Linked DNA regions of Homo sapiens: region 2 is linked to region 1. The links are contacts of gene promoters, found by promoter capture Hi-C in blood cells and fetal thymus (Javierre and others, 2016). All regions are on one chromosome and are shown on one strand. The core of a region is centred on a gene start or on the middle of the fragment in contact, and the rest is flanking DNA. Distances in the headings are between cores, read along the strand shown. Region 1 holds the start of TBK1 (TANK binding kinase 1). Region 2 has its middle 16 kb from the start of HELB.

What was found. Contacts are between HindIII fragments. The CHiCAGO score rates a contact against its expected background, and 5 or more counts as called.
Region 2: a fragment that was not itself captured here is called in contact with the fragment with the promoter of TBK1 in region 1 in 1 of 17 cell types (total CD4 T cells); the score reaches 8.5 in total CD4 T cells.

The regions. Positions count from the first base shown.
Region 1 is chr12:64,450,863-64,453,380 of GRCh38, forward strand. TBK1 (TANK binding kinase 1) reads left to right here and starts at 1,258. Exons shown (of 21, transcript NM_013254.4): 1 at 1,258-1,325. It overlaps XPOT (exportin for tRNA), which reads left to right. Exons shown (of 25, transcript NM_007235.6): 25 at 1-263. RefSeq lists a silencer at 1,129-1,598. The HindIII fragment of the contact is 9,573 bases long and covers 1-2,518 here.
Region 2 is chr12:66,285,574-66,288,091 of GRCh38, forward strand. No RefSeq gene overlaps it. Among named protein-coding and RNA genes, the nearest start is that of HELB, 16 kb to the right of the region's middle. The HindIII fragment of the contact is 2,700 bases long and covers 1-2,518 here.

The sequences.
Region 1 (2,518 bases), core at 8-2,507:
TTGACCTTATAAGAAAACACTGTGTGGTATTTTAATGTGGTAAACATGTGAATGAAGGCCTGTGGCTCAGTTAATCACTCCCACAACTTTGAGCTGTGAGTTTTACTGGTGGAAGGAACTTTAACAGGTCTTCGCTCTTGTCATTAGATATCAAAGAACTGAAATTAGTTGGAATTGTAAGCAGTGAATAGATGTGTTGTTAGAATGATTCCATCACTTATACATTGTTTAAAATGCTAATAAAGTAACTTGCTTTGTAAGAATTCATTAGAGTGGACTTTTGTTATCTCCATTGTGCATTTGATAAAACTGAGGCTTAGAGAGGTAAGAGATTAGCTTTTAAGTCAGTAATTGGCAGCCGAGACAGCAACCCTAGGTCTGTTACATTCAAAAGCCTCTGAGCCACTCCGCATGACTTCCCATTCATTCGTGTTTGCTGCTGCTACTCTGGGAAACACCATCTTCCTCTTCCCCTCCACTCAGAAATTTAGCCCTAGATTAGCAGCGGTCTCTGCTCCCTCATGTTGAGAAAGGCCTGTTGTGCTGTCCGTGGGCAGAAGGGACCCCTTCAGAAAGCTATTCCTTATTGGGAATAGCGGCTTGAGATTTTGACTGCACGAATATTGCAGGACCTAATTTTAGTATTTAAGTTTTAGTTCTTAAATTCTTAAGTTTAGAGTTAGATACTCCAATACGGCCGTTTTCCAAAATACCGAGAGGGAATTAAATGAACATTTTTACATTAAGAATTTAATGTATTTCTGGGTGATGGGAAAATGAAAAAAACAATGTAAAGTCTGAATTACTGCGAGACGATAATCTGGCTCCACTGCAGCCAAAGTGGGCCCTTAAAACATAGAATCCATCCCTCCCAGCTCTGCCGGCCGTCTGTGCCTGCCCCCCACGTGTCCCACGTTCTGCACACCTGTAAATCTTGGGATGTAATCCCTTGCTCAGCGTCGGTCCGCCCTACTGTCGGCCAGCGCTCGGGGAAGGGGCGGGATTTGCAGTTGCGGGAATCCCAATTACTGTGTTCGCTGCTCAGGGCTCCTCATTCCCCTTTAGAGTAAAGGGCGAGGGCAACAGTGGACGGGGTGTCTCCAGACATCCCCCTCATTACCGTGGCCGCGGAAGCCGACTCGGCAGTTGCCGCCGCGGCTGTGGTGACTACCAGACGGGCCATAGGCGTGCGCACGCGCACCCGCACCGGCGCGCCGGCCGTCGGTCACGTGGCCTCCGGCCAGGGCTTGCGAAGCCGGAAGTGTCCTGAGTCTCGAGGAGGCCGCGGGAGCCCGCCGGCGGTGGCGCGGCGGAGACCCGGCTGGGTAAGTGAGACGGCCGCGGGCTGAGGGGCCAAGGCGGCGCGGGGCGCGGTCGGTCAGGCCTGCGCCGCCCGGCGGGGAGCGCTCCCGCCCCCTGTGGGAGGCTGGGATGCTGAGTCAGAGCGGGGGCGGGGGCGGGCGCACCGAGAAGCCCCGGACGACCCGAGGCCAAGCCATCCAGGACCCCGGCTGCGTGGACACTGCCTCTGGGGTGTGTGTCGGGTGGCCGTAGCCGGTGGAATGGTCGCGCGGGCCCTGTTACCTGCATCCCCGCTCCGCGCCGCGCGGCCGGTCCTCGACCTGCATCCCGTCCGGCGGCTTTGGGCATAAAGAGGACGACTCCGTTACCGGGCCTGGGCCCTGGCTGCCTGGGGAGGCAGGGGCACCTCTTTCCCTTAGACTCGCTGTTTTCTACCCTCTTTCCGAGCGTCGACACAACGGGCAGTTTTTAAATGTATTGATTTTTCAGAGGATTAAAAAGAGACGTTTCCTTAGAGTTTTAGTGATGTTCAGTCCGCAGAGGTTGACTCACACCGGAAATTAGAAGCATAAGATGTTTTAAATATATGCCGATGAAATACGAATTCCCAGACATTTCCTTGCTCCTCGTCTACCTGGCTTATGGGTTTAATTTGTAATCTCTATCCCAAGTATTCTTAGTAGGTGGCCTCAAAACAACTCCCAAGTAATTGCCAAATGTATAACCAAAGACTGGTCTTTTCCACTCTGAAACCCCAGTGTATGAATCACATAGGGGCAGAGTTTAGAAATCCTGGAACTTTGTCCATAGGCCATGTCGTCAAACCTGTTTTCATCCCTCAACAAATAGTAACTTTCGTTTTGGACGGTGTAAGGAAGTAGGCTGAAGACGGCATCATCAGCAACATAGTTGTTGAGTGTCTGCTTATATGCTTGTCAAAAATTTGGGAAGATTTATATGGCAAGCACGTTGTGGGTGTGCTGAGTCATGTTTTAACATGTTATTGTGGAGTTATTGGAAGATAATTTCAAAAGACATTTCCCCTGACCACTATTGTGATTACTGTTAAATAGAAACCATAGTTTTGTATTTGCATAGAGAACAGATATCTTAGCTGATAAATATTTTTCTTATTATCCTGAAGGTACATACATATAGGTACCTAATGGTACTATTTGCCATTTACAGTTACATTGATTAGGGAAGGTTTTTCGTT
Region 2 (2,518 bases), core at 6-2,505, 1.8 Mb after region 1:
ATTGTTTCTAGTTGCTTTTGGCCTATGAGAAATAGTACAATAAATATTCTTGCACAGTGGTGCTCTCATTTCTATAGGAGAGATTCTCCAACATGGAAGTGCTATATTAAAGAATGTGTTGATAGATTTTAAAAGACATTATATAATCGGCTGGGTGCAGTGGCTCACGCCTGTAATCCCAGCACTTTGGGAGGCCAAGGCGGGCAGATCACGAGGTCAGGAGATCGAGACCATACTGGATAACATGGTGAAACCCTGTCTCTACTGAAAAAAAAAAAAAATACAAAAAATTAGCTGGGCGTGGTGGCACTTGCCTGTAGTCCTAGCTACCTGGGAGGCTGAGGCAGGAGAATCGCTTGAACCCAAGAGGCAGAGGTTGAAGTGAGCTGACATCGCATCACTGCACTCCAGCCTGGCCAACAGCAAGACTCTGTCTCAAAAAAAAAAAAAAAAAAAGACATTATATAATTAATTTCAAAAGTTTCTAGCAATTCACATTGCCACAAAGGGCCTTTGGTCTGCTGGACAGAGTAAGCCCCATTGAGAAGATGATAATCTTTTTTCTTAAGCAAAAACACAAAGATAGCGAGGGAGTTAGCCACACAGTTCCCTGGGAAAACTATTCTAGACAAAGAGAGGAGACAGTTCAAGAACTCTCTGGGAGAATCATATCTGATGTGTTCAAGGAACAACAAGGGGGCTGGGCCAGTGTAGCTGAAGCAAAATGAGCAAAGGGAGAGCAGGAAGTGAGAAGGCCAGAGAGACTGATGGAAGGGCAGAGCATGTAAGGCCTAATAGGCTTTGCTTTCACTGCGAGTGTGATGTGGAGCTCTTGCAGGGTTTTGAGCAAAGGAGTTAATACAATCTGACCTGTTTCAAAAGAATCATTATAGCAGCTCCACTGGAAAAAAAAAATGCTGTAGGAAGCAAAATTGGAAGCAGGAGGTCCGTTAGGAGATTATTGGAATAAGCCAGCACAGAGAGGGAGGCAGCTGAGACCAGGGTGGGAGCAGCAGAGGTGGTGAGAAGTGATTGGATTCTGGGTATGTTTCGAAGGTAGAGCCAATGAGATTTGGTGATGGATTGTGCATGGGACGCAGGAAACAGAGAAAAGTTAGGATTAACTCCAAAGAGTTTGGCGGGAGCAACCAAAGGATGAAGTTACCATTAACTGAGATGGGGAAGACTGTAGGTAGAGCAGATCTGGGGAGGAAGAATGGTCAGGAATTCCTGTTTGATCCTGTCAAGTTTTAAAAGATATTTAACTGGCGATGTTAAGCAGGCAGTTGGAAGTACAAGTTTGTAGTTTAAAAGTGATGTATAAGGCCGGGCGCAGTGGTTCACGCCTGTAATCTCAACACTTTGGGAGGTCGAGGCAGGTGGATCACTTGAGGTCAGGAGTTCAAAACCAGCCTGGACAACACAGTGGAACCCTGTCTCTACTAAAAATACAAAAATTAGCTGGGCACTGTGGCACGTGCCTATAATCCCAGCTACTCGGGAGGCTGAGGCAGGAGAATCGCTTGAACCCAGGAGGCGGAGGTTGCGGTGAGCCGAGATTGTGCCACTGCACTCCAGCCTGGGCGACAAAACGAGACTCCGTCTAAAAAAAAAAAAAAAAGAAGAAGAAAGAAAACAGTGATGTATAGACAGTGATATAAATATAAGAACCACAACATATAGGTGATACTCAAGGCCATAAGAGTGAATGGAGTCTGGACAGATAAGAGAAGACTAAGGACAGAGTGGTCATGGAAAGTAAGGAAGGCCAAGGAGGCTACTCAGACAGAGCAGCCATGAAGGAGGGAGACAACTGAAAGATCGCGGCATGCCAGAAACCAAGAGATGAAAATGTGTTCAGATAGAAGGACAGATCAGGGACATCAAATACTGCTGACAGGTCAATAAGAGAACAACTGAGAACAACTGTAGTAGGCTAATTAATGTCCTCCCAGCCCCACAAAGATGTCCACATCTTAATCCCCAGAACCTGTGACTATATTGTCTTACATGGCAAGAAGAACTTTGGAGATGTGGTTAATGTTAAGGATCTGGAGATGGGGAGATTATCCTGGATTGTCCATGTGGGCCCGATGTAATCACAAGGGTCCTTATAAGAGGGAGGCAAAAGATTCAGAGTCAAAGTCAGAGAAGGCAGTGTGACCGTGGACACAGAGGTCTGAGGGATGTGGCAAGGAATGATTGTACCCTGGAGCACCCAGAAGGAAAGCAGCCCTGCTTCCCCATTTTAAACTTCTGACCTTAAGAACTGGGTGATAATAAATTTGTGTTGTTTTCAACCACTGGGTTTGGGGTAATTTGTTATAGCAGCAATAGAAAACAAATGTACTAACCATTGCATTTAGCCATGTGGAAGTCACTGGTGACCCTGCACCAGAGGAATTTCAGGGATGTGTTGGGTTGGAAACCTCATTGAAGTGGGCTAACAAAGACCAGGAGAACAAGTCTATCCTAAACACATGCAGGACCTTTTCTAGAATTAGAAGAGGGGCCTGCT